Regions from separate parts of the Homo sapiens genome. Here all the other regions are linked to region 4. The links are contacts of gene promoters, found by promoter capture Hi-C in human tissues and cell types (Jung and others, 2019). All regions are on one chromosome and are shown on one strand. The core of a region is centred on a gene start or on the middle of the fragment in contact, and the rest is flanking DNA. Distances in the headings are between cores, read along the strand shown. Region 1 overlaps LOC105372809 (a long non-coding RNA gene). Region 2 overlaps BACE2 (beta-secretase 2). Region 3 has its middle 16 kb from the start of TMPRSS2. Region 4 holds the start of MX2 (MX dynamin like GTPase 2).

The links. The method cuts DNA at HindIII sites, captures the fragments that hold promoters and counts their contacts. A contact is called where the count stands out against the background at its distance.
Region 1: a contact is called between a fragment that was not itself captured here and the fragment with the promoter of MX2 in region 4, in 1 of the 25 tissues and cell types used here (small bowel).
Region 2: a contact is called between a fragment that was not itself captured here and the fragment with the promoter of MX2 in region 4, in 1 of the 25 tissues and cell types used here (small bowel).
Region 3: a fragment that was not itself captured here is called in contact with the fragment with the promoter of MX2 in region 4 in 2 of the 25 tissues and cell types used here (H1 embryonic stem cells and dorsolateral prefrontal cortex).

What each region holds. Positions count from the first base shown.
Region 1 is chr21:41,567,463-41,570,162 of GRCh38, forward strand. All of the region lies in intron 1 of LOC105372809 (a long non-coding RNA gene), which reads right to left. Among named protein-coding and RNA genes, the nearest start is that of PCSEAT, 12 kb to the right of the region's middle. RefSeq lists an enhancer at 1,119-1,692 and a cis regulatory region at 1,469-1,491. The HindIII fragment of the contact is 6,667 bases long and covers 1-2,700 here.
Region 2 is chr21:41,180,434-41,183,133 of GRCh38, forward strand. The region is part of intron 1 of BACE2 (beta-secretase 2); the gene reads left to right. PLAC4 (placenta enriched 4) reads right to left here. Exons shown (of 1, transcript NR_148920.1): 1 at 1-2,700. Among named protein-coding and RNA genes, the nearest start is that of PLAC4, 3.5 kb to the right of the region's middle. RefSeq lists an enhancer at 1-91. The HindIII fragment of the contact is 3,473 bases long and covers 1-2,700 here.
Region 3 is chr21:41,522,911-41,525,610 of GRCh38, forward strand. No RefSeq gene overlaps it. Among named protein-coding and RNA genes, the nearest start is that of TMPRSS2, 16 kb to the left of the region's middle. RefSeq lists an enhancer at 2,513-2,700. The HindIII fragment of the contact is 6,198 bases long and covers 1-2,700 here.
Region 4 is chr21:41,360,777-41,363,476 of GRCh38, forward strand. MX2 (MX dynamin like GTPase 2) reads left to right here and starts at 1,251. Exons shown (of 14, transcript NM_002463.2): 1 at 1,251-1,279. RefSeq lists enhancers at 676-935, 956-1,795. The HindIII fragment of the contact is 34,961 bases long and covers 1-2,700 here.

The sequences.
Region 1 (2,700 bases), core at 198-2,697, 210 kb after region 4:
TGGATGGATGGGTGGATGGGTGGATGGATGGATGGATGGATGGATGGATGGATGGGTGGATGGGTGGGTGGGTGGATGGAAGGATGGATGGATGGATGGGTGAATGGATGGATGGATTCCATCTATTCTTGTAAGGATTGTAAGCCTTGCCAGTCATGGCTTGGATGCCACTTTTAGAGACTAGTTTCCATCTTCACTGGGGCTGTCTCATGAGTTACTACAATCCTTGTCAGTCTTTCATGCTTGAGTGACAGTGAGTGTCAGCTCACCCCTGTCCTGAAAGCTAAGACTTTCACATAGAAAGAAGGGTCCCTAGCGACTGAGGGTTTAAAGTGCCAGGAGGAAGTGGAAGGGCCCTGCAGACAATCTGTGTCCAGGGTCCAAACTTTTCTCTGTCAGCCCTGCCCCATTTGCAAGCCCCAGAGCAGCAACCTGGAAGAGCAGAGCCATAAAGAGCGGGGCTCCTAGAAGGGAGCGAGCCTGGCTTCAGGATCAACTTTTCTGCTGGGGCAGATGGCGGCATGCAACCGAGGTCCTAGGGCACGGATGTAAGCATGTATGAGAGGTCCTCCTGGGGACCTGGAGGGGCTTCGTGAGTGTCTGGGATCTGCCCTCCTCTGAGGTCTCTTCCTGGAGGGAGAATAACACACCTGCACTTTGTCACCCAAGGCCAGTCCGCTTCCGTCACCCTTGCCCCCAAGTCCCGCTTCCTCATGACGGAGTACCAAAAGCATGGGCCACTCGTGCCTTCAGCAATTGTTTATGTGCCAGGCACTGTCTGGGCAGCAGGATGTCGCTGCGAGCCCTCTCCCAACACCTGCCGCGCATGTACTGTGCCCGCGACTTCGCCGCGGCTCAGTGGGTGGGTCCAGTCCTTCCAGCCCTCGCCATCCTCCCCACCACAGATTCTGCCTCCTGGCACCTTTGCCTTGCCCAGCAGGCTGTGAGGCTTCGCATAGACGCTGCCACCCACCCGCATCCTCCTAATGTGACTGTAGATTGCCTCAAGCAAAGCTTTAAGAGCACACATCCACATTCGTTCTTGGACCTAATCTTTGCTCAATTGGTCTGGATTTGGGATATGAACTCTTTGGTTTTGAACACCCTGGGACCACAAGCCAGTTGTAAATGCTCATGACAGCCAGAAAGGCCTGGAACAGGAGGAACATAAAAAACAAGAAGGAGAGCAGAGGGTGGGCTGTCCCAGAGGAAGAGAAGTGACAGGAGGCTGGCACCTCCTCCAGACGAGGGCTGGACAGGGTGCTGCACAGATTGTCCAGGTATGGAGCAGAACCAAAACCTAACAAAGGCCAGGAGGGACCAGAGCCGTTTGGGAAAAGTGGAAGCAGTTTGGCGTCGCTGGTATTTTCTGGGTGTCTCGAGATGAGATGCAAGCTGATATTATATTAGACGCATTTGAATTGTAGCTTAGAGTGTCAGACTATTTTACAATGCTTTAAAATTCTAGCTTTGTTTCACAACGTTCCTATAAAGCAGACAGGGAGCACTGTTTTCATTTTATGGACTGAGCCAAGCACACGGCCGACTCGCTCCCGGTCAGGTAGAGTTAGAGAATGAGCAGAGATGCAAACTCTGCAGCTGCTGCTTCCCAGTGTTGGCAAAGTCCACAGGATGGGTCCTTCCAGGCTGGGGCCTTGGGCTTGTCACCGCCTCCTTTCCAGACCCCACCCTCGGGCCCCCTAGGATGCAAGGGGGAATGAGCAGAGGGGCCCAAGGAAATGGGGGACCCAGCTAAACAAGAGGAGCTGACAGAGCTGCTGGGAGTGGGAAAGGAAAAATCTCAGCCTTTGCCCAGGAAGCATCCGAGGCACCCAGACTGCAGGACATCTTCCAGTCACTCTCAATGGCCACCCACCCCTCAGGTGCACCCCCTGCCACTCATATGAAGCTGGAACACACAGATATCCATATCCAAAAAAATGAGCCTCCCCTCCCTTATACCAGATACAAAATTTAATTCAAGTGAATTATTGACTTAAACGTAATAATGAAAACTATAAACTCCTACATTTGGGCAGGCAAAGATTTTTTAGGCAGCACACAGAAAGCACCAGATTCTATCAAATAAAAATTATTAAGAAAATTAGGCTGGGTGTGGTGGCTCATGTCTGTAATCCCAGCACTTTGGGAAGCCAAGGCAGGAAGATTGCTTGAAGCCAGGAGTTTGAGACCCGCCTGGGCAAGATGGCAAGATCCTGTCTCTACAAAAAAATTTTTTCATTAGCCAGGCACTCCTGTAGTCTCCGTTACTTGGGAGACTGAGTCAGGAGGATCACTTGAGCTCAGGAGTTTGAGGCTGCATTGAGCTGTGATCACGCCACTGTACTCTAGCCTGGGCAACAGAGAGAGATCCTGCCTCTAAAAAAAAGAAGAAAGCAGCCAGGTGCAGTGGCTCATGCCTGTAATCCCAGCACTTTGGGAGGCTGAGGTGGACAGATCACCTGAGGTCAGGAGTTCAAGACCAGCCTGGCCAACATAGCGAAACCCCATCTCTACCAAAAATACAAAAACTTAGCCGAGTATGGTAGCAGGCACCTGTAATCCCAGCTACTTGGGAGGCTGAGGCAGGCGAATTGCTTGAACCTGGGATGCGGAGGCTGCAGTGAGCCAAGACTGTGCCACTGCACTCCAGCCTGGGCAACAAGAGCGAAACTCCATCTCAAAAAAAAAAAAAAAAAA
Region 2 (2,700 bases), core at 136-2,635, 180 kb before region 4:
CCCTGCCTGGCACTGGAGGAGTAAAAATCTCTGGATACCTGATCTAAGGAGCCCAGAGGCAGGACGATTTCATTCTCCGTGTCAGTGGACAGGATGGGCTGGAAGCCTTGTGCCAGCATTGTCTCTGGAACTGTGGTAATCTAGAATACACAAACTTTACTAAGAGGTTAAAGAAGCAAGGACCAAACATTTGTAACAAGACAGTTGTCAAAGGTCCTAGAAGAGGTGAAAAACAGGTGAGACTTGGGAAGGCACTTTTGATGGTTGACCAGATATAGTTGGGGGCAGTGCCCTGGTTATATCTATGTAACTAGGTAGCTTGCTCATAGATCTTTTGAATGTTAACCTCAACCTGTCCAGAGTTAATATATGTGCAGCAGGTTTTATTAATAACTGCACAAGACCCCACCTTGTTCAGCTAGTAAATAATCCAATGCTAGTCTGTTATCAACAACTACATTTTCCAGAGTCTGGGGAACTCTTGAATTCTCTTTAATGCCTGATCTCCGTTGGTGGCTAAGGATTCTAGGATTTGAGCCAAGTTCTTTAGCGTTAACTCATGGTAGGCAAAGCCACCCCAGGGTGCTGCTAGTCCTATTGCCACCCTGATTCCTGCCAGAATTAGTTTTATTGCTTACTTATTTCTGATATTCTTGGGTCCTAGGCGTTATAGATTGTGACCCCTGGAGGGGTAAGAGTGGCCAACGTTCATTCATGTCAGTTCCAAGTTTTTTAGATACAAGGGAAAGCTATTCCTTAAAGAAGAGGTGACTCCTTAGGGAGTTGGAGTGGTTACAGGGTGTGACTTCTTCCCATTCATAGTCACAAACAAAAATGAACCCAACTAGGGCACCAAGAGAAGCCCTGCGGGGTGCGATGTTTATACTTCATTGCCAGGTTGGGTCTATAGAGATATTTTCCACCTGTTCTCATGGTGGTGGTTGAACAATCTTTGTTTTCTAGAAGAAGGTAGTACTGTCACCTTCCCAGATCAGGCAGTTGTTTTTCCTTTGTATGTTCCCATCCGGGAGAAGGTACCATATATGGTCTTTTCACTCACAAATGGAATCTCATTTACCTCCCCGTGGTCTTGGAAACTTGGCAACTAGAGTTGGACCAGAGCATCGCAGGGAAGCTTCCACTTTTGTGTCATTAATGCAAGAGTGGATGCAAATGTTAGAGTTATGAGTGCACTGGAGATATAGATGCCCAACTTCCCAGATTCCGATAATAGTGGTCAGGGCAGGGGGACAGCAGGGTCCAGGGGGGATCCACTAAGTGGGGAAGAGTTCCACTTCACAATAGGGGTTTGGGTATTTTGGGGTGCTATGGTTAGTTAGGAGGTCTGGGGACATGGTCCTGAGATTTTCCAGATAGGTCGGAAGATGAAACTGTCTATCCTGGGGGTGTTGATGACAAATCTGGCAGCCATAAAGATGATTCTATGATGCTATAATTTTTGAAATATTTACTGTAGAATTTTGTCCACCCTCCCTGTCCACATACACACTAGCTTAGGTTAATTAGAAGAGCAAACAGAATTAACAGTGGCATCATGGTATCTGGTTGGGTCTTAGAGTAGCTTCTATACCCAACAAGCCCACAGGAGATGTTTCCCAGGAGGAGGTGGCTGGTTAAAGCCATAGAAAGGAAGTACTACAGTCAGGAAGAAGAGCAAGATCAATGCTCCTATTCCCATCTACAGCATTACATTACCTCTTCTGGCTGAGTGTTGATTATTTTAAATAGGTAGCAGAGGTCTTCCAAAGCTTTACTGATATTGGTTGTGGTTGTAGTGCCCTTCCTTTGTGCCTGTGACTCATAAGAAACAGGTTTAGTCCTGGATCTGTGTGCCCAAGTAGGTGTTCCCTGAAGTTTAACAGCAGTGGGGGTACTTAACAATACCTGATAAGGCCCCTTCCATTTCATTGTAATTGATTCTTGGGGTATCCCTGTCTTTACCCTGTCTTTAAGGTTTTAGCAAGACTAAGTCTCCTGGTTGAACCGGGGAGCTATTTTTTCCTTTGTGGGGAAGGACAGTATTTTATTTTTATATTGGAGGGCCTTTTGAACCTGTCCTAAATTCTAAAGGGGAGGGGGGAAGGTTCATATAGGTAATTACTACAAGCCAAGACCACAGCAGCTCAACACATAAAATCCATAGACAAATCAGTTTTACAACCCCATTTCCTGGCTTCTAGTTCTTGGCTTCCATACTGCTCAAAAGGAGTTCAAGGGCCAATGAGTGCCCGCCCACCTCCACACTCATGCACTGTGCAGATGACTTACACAGACCATCTACAACATAGCTGAATTTCCTGACATGTTCTATACTACCTCTTTCTTAAAGTTATTTTACTCTAGGATAGGGAATTTACTATACAGGATTCCTCCACATATAAAATTACTCTTTCTTTATATCCTTCCTTGCAAAACAAACAAAAAATACATTTTCTATTCATAATATTCTTTACATCTCTCTTTTCTACTCACTGGTTCACTCATGTTTTGAACCTCCCATTTAGTAACTTCCGGATTAGACAAAAAATTTTTTCTCAATAAAGAATACATTTCTTTAGCACATTTTATGGAAACCTAGGAAGGAAGAAGTCATGAACTTCACACTAGACATTGTCATTCTATAACTGAGAACCATTCTACCATTTTATGATTTTAAACCACACATTAAGCATATCCCAT
Region 3 (2,700 bases), core at 179-2,678, 160 kb after region 4:
TATATGTGTCACATTTTCTTTATCCAGTCTGTCATTGATGGGCATTTGGGTTGATTCCATGTCTTTGCTATTGTGAATAGTGCTGCAATGAACGTACACGTGCATGTATCTTTGTTATAGAATGACTGATATTCCTTTGGGTTTATACCCAGTAATGGGATTGCTGGGTTAAATCAAGCAGAGCATCTTTGTCATCATCTCGTCCCTTGGGAGTTCTCCACGGCCTGGGAGTTCCCTGCACTAGGAAGGGATGAGGAAAGGCAGCCAGGGGCTCCAGTGTGGGGCAGAGGGAGCTTGGAGGAGCCGCTTCTCCCTCCCCAGGACAGGAGCCCTGGTACCTGGCTCTGCCTGTGGCATGGGGCAGGGCAGTCCCATAGCAGTGGGGAGGGGATGGCCAGGGTGGAGGCCAAGGGAGGGCAGGCACCAGCAATCTGAACACCCTCTGTTATCCACCTCGGCTGGGGCCCATTTTGAAGAGGGTGTGCAAGATTTCATCTGCAAAATGGAGGCTGCTGCTTTCAAAGGTTTGAAAGTCCCTGCTGTTTGAGGAGAAGGCAGGGATAGATGAGACCCTGGAGGCATCGCAGACTCATCCAAAGAGCTTAGTTTGACCTCAGGGCAAGGGCATCCTGCAAGGGTTCAAGAGGGGAGTGACTTCCTTCCTCAATGTATGGATGTTGAATGTGCACCTCTGATTTCTCCTGCCCCCTCCCATCTTCTGCCCACCCCAGCCAGGTCCAGAGTAGGAAGGGGCACATGCCTGTGTTCTGGGGGATAAGACGTCAGTGTGGTTGGAAGCCCAGGAAACTAGTTTTAAAGCTTCATTTGCATAGAAAATAATCTACCTCTCCTATATTTTTAACATTTTACTAAAATTTGTTTCTAAATGAGTAGTACAGTTTTTATTATGTGTTTCAGAACACATTACCTACTGTCTGTCAAGAGAAAATAAAGTATATCTGTTGCCAAATGCAATTTTATTTCCAGAAAGGTGGCTCTGATAGAATGGACCTCACTGAAGCCCTCCCCTAAGGCTAGGACTTTGCCCTCCTCCACTCCCACCCAACAAAGAGGAGTCTCTTCAGGGGTGAAGATAATCAGGATCATATTTTTTTTCATTGCTTTGAAAAGGAGAAAAGTGAGAAACATTATTCCACTTAGAATAAGTTTTTGAAGACCTAAAATTCAAGGTTTTGTTCACAAGTCTTTTTTTTTTTTTTTTTTTTTTTTTTTTTTTTTGAGACGGAGTCTTGCTCTGTTGCACAGGCTGGAGTGCAGTGGCGCGATCTCAGCTCACTGCAAGCTCCGCCTCCCAGGCTCAAGCCATTCTCCTGCCTCAGCCTCCCGAGTAGCTGGGACTACAGGCGCCTGCCACCACGCCAGGCTAATTTTTTGTATTTTTAGTATAGACGGGGTTTCACCGTGTTAGCCAGGATGGTCTCAATCTCCTTGTGATCCGGCCGCCTCGGCCTCCCAAAGTGCTGGGATTACAGGCGTGAGCCATTGCGCCCGGCCGTTCACAAGTCTTTATAATCATAAAATAAGCTTTTTGATCCTTGTACATTTCTTTTTTCCAGCTAAAATACATGCAAGTAACTTTTTAAAAATAGGTTAAGCCGGCTGGGCGTGGTGGCTCACGCCTGTAATCCCAGCACTTTGGGAGGCCGAGGCAGGAGGATCACGAGGTCAGGAGATCGAGACCATCCTGGCTAACATGGTGAAACCCCATCTCTACTAAAAATACAAAAAAATTAGCCCGGTGTGGTGGCGGGCGCCTGTAGTCCCAGCTACTCGGGAGGCTGAGGCAGGAGAATGGCTTGAACCTGGGAGGCGGAGCTTGCAGTGAGCCGAGATTGTGCCACTGCACTCCAGCCTGGGGAACAGAGCAAGACTCCGTCTCAAAAAAAAATAATAATAATAAGTTAAGCCAACCGGGCAATCTCGGATGCTCCCACGGTGCTCACGCTTAAACGCCTTTGAGGCTCTGGGTCACTCTGGGGCTACCAAAGCCTTGACGGCCAGGCACTGCTTCTGCTGCTGCACTTACCCAGCCCCTGCCCCTTCCATCTCCTCCCAGTCCCAAAACCCCGCTGCCCAGTCAGAGAGTCCACTTAGGGAACTGCACCTGTTTTCTGTTTGTTTTGTTTTTTCCTGAAAATGGCTGGCCCAAAGGAAGGCTCATAAAACCCTTGAATCTCTGTGTTTGCAGAGAAACAAATATGAAGTGTAGCTAAAGAGGGACTGAGCAAAGGGTCCGTGAAACACGCAGATCCATAGGGATGGGGGCGACAAGCTTCCGTGCTGAACAGGAGCGACCCTGGGGTGGCTGCCCGTCGCAGATGGCTAGGTCACTCCTCTTTCATTTCTTCAGGGACAAAGAAGCACTACACTGTGAGCCTGCTGTTATCACTCCCAACATCTGGTCAGGAAGCAAACCAACTGATCAAGGAGCAACATAGTTCATCCTACTTGAGCACCTCTACTTCCAGATTTTGGGATATGTAACATGCTGAGAACAAGTTAATTATCTATGCACATATATGTGTATGTGTGTATGCATGTGTATACACATACGTGTACAAACAGGCATATATACAGTATGTATACATAAATATAAATATAGTTAAATATATATTTATATTTATAAATATATAGTTAAAGATTCAAATACACAAGTGCCCATTTTTCCCATTGGTTTTT
Region 4 (2,700 bases), core at 1-2,500:
GATTCACATTCCTCCCCTCACTCCTCAGCCTCTGTCCGCCCGGGCTCTTGGGAAGAGAAGTGGTTCAGGGATAGGTGATCCTGACGATGATCTCCTGGTGTTAATATTTCTAATGCCAAGGTTTTGAAAAACATGTTAAGTTTCTAAATATCTTCCGTAAAGTTAAGCCTGCACTCAAGGGAAGTCACTACAATGACTTAGCCAAGAGGAGCTCAGGAGTTTTTTTAAACGTATAGTGTTGATGTCTGGGAGAGGATCACGGGTGGATAGGAGAGCTGAGAGCCTGCTTCCTCCCTCCCAGCCATCACTGCCAGTCCTTGAGAGGCTTGGTCCCCTCCCCGGTGTCTGGAGGGCTCCTCCTGGAGGTTCCCAGACCTCTTGGCTCTGGTGATGGGAATGCCTGGCCCTCCTTGACTTTGGTCACAGAGCAGGAAGCCTTAGGGAGCATGCGGTTGTGCACCTTCACTTTTGCAGGTGAAAAGTAACTGAGGACCAGAAAGATGACATGCAGCTGGCTCAGGGCTGAGTTCCGGAGCCTGGGGTTTGTCCTGGGGCCTCCTTATCTCCAATGGGAAGAAAACCGTCTTGGTTTTGCGGCGGGGACCTCAGGCACGGGTGCTTGGAGAAAGCTGTTGACCCTCCTTCTTTGGGTTTTCCGCACCTAATGAGGGGAGAGGTGACATTTGTCAGGTGCGGCTCAGGCATGAAGCTAAGCAGGACAGCTCAGAGCGTCCAGATCATGTACCTGAGAGCATGTCCTCGGCTGTAACAGGAGTGCATCTGTGAGGCCCGATACACGAACCACACGTGGCTATTCATTCAAATTACATGGAGTTCGAAGTCCAGTTCCTTGGTCGCAGTAGTCACATTTCAGAGCCACACAGGTGGTACTGGATGGCACTGTCAGGGCAGAACCTTCCAGTGACTGAGCCACTCTGAGCTGCCCCCATGCCAGCCTCCCCTGGAATCTGTTAGCAATGCTGATTCTCAGGCCCAGCCCAGACCTGACAGATCAGACTCTCTGGCGGGGGTGGGGGGACAGCCGCCCCGTCTCCACAGCTCTCCCAGGATTCGGATGCAGCTGGAGTTTGGGGACCACTCTGTGAGTCATCTGGAGAGCACGCTGATAACTCAGTTTCATTTCTGTGGCCAGATCAAGTAGTTTCATTTCTCTCCCTGTTTGTTGATGACGGAGCAGGGGAGGGAGTGGTTCATATGCCACATAAAAGTGAAGTGGAGGAAAGGGAAGAGATGATTTCTCCATCCTGAACGTGCAGCGGTAAGAGCGGGGCCGGTGCAGGGAGGGCTGCTTTGTGTCTGATGCACAGCAGATGCGTGTTTAAAAAATATTTCCTGAGTAACGTGACATCTGCTTGGTGAATGTGGCTTGTGCTGGGAGGCAGGAGCCACAAAGATAAGATTCTGGTGTGAGGAGCAGAAAGGGCCCATGTTGCCACCAGCCCACAGTAGCCTTGTGCACAGACAAAGAGGCTCTGGAGGGGAAGTGGCTGGCCCTGGGGACAGGGTGGCCTCCATCCTGATCTGGCCAAAAGTCGGGTGGACGCAAAGGGGTGGTTTTTAGGACAGCTTTGCTCAGCGTCCTACAAAGTCTGGGGGTTGAGTAAGGAGCTTTGTGCCCGAAAAGTCGTCTCGGAGGGTTTCAAGTGTTCCTTCTTTTGTGGTATTTGTGATGCTCTGACGTAACCTTAGTGACGGTGATATGCTGGGAAATTGGCTCTCATGGGGCGGGGCAGGGCAGAGGGTGGTGCCTGATTTCTAGCCTTTGCCGATTCTCTTCCGTTCTCATGGTGTGAATGCTCCCACCGTGGCCAGTTCCCAGCCAGTAGGGGCCAACTCCAGCACTCTGGACCACTGCACCCTGGATCGCCTGCACTCTGGGGGCTGAAGTCCATTTTATAATTGATATAGAGCGGAAAGGAGACATGGTGGTATTGATGACGCAGTTTTTTTTTCTTTTTTTTTTTTTTTTTTTTTTTTTTGAGAGAAGTTCTCGTTCTGTTCCCCAGGCTGGAGTGCAGTGGCGTGATCATGGCTCACTGCAGTCTCAAGCTCCCGGGCTCAAGGGATCCTCCCACCTCAGCCTCCCAAGTAGCTGGGACTACAGGTGTGCACCACCACACCTGGTTAATTTTATTTCTTTTTGTAGAGACAGGGGCTCTCTATGTTGCCCAGGCTGGTCTCAAACTCACTGGCTCAAGAAGTCCTTACGCCTCAACCTCCCAAAGCACTGGGATTACAGGCGTAAGCCACCCCATTCGGCTTTGATGACACCTTTTGAACACTGTTCTTTCTCATTTTGTGTTTAGAATGTTGTCTCTAGCTGTTTAAAAAGATCAGGATTCCAAGCTATCTTTCCTCGCACCCTCTCCTCCGTTTACTCTGCTCTACTTCCCAGCCCCGCGCCAACCCCTGAAGCACTTTTGACTCCCTTCGGATGTACAATTTTTTTTTCTTTTTCTTTTTTGAGACAGGGTCTTCCTGCTCTGTTTCCCAGGCTGGAGTGCAATGGTACCATCATAGCTCACTGCAGCCTTAAACTTCCGGGCTCAAGTGATCCTCCTGCCTCGGCCTCCCAATGCATTGGGATTACAGGTGTGAGTCCCTGCGTCTGGCCAGGATGTATGTGAGCTTTATTTAGGTTTAGCCCCTGCCCTAGAATGCAAGCTCCCCCAGAGATCT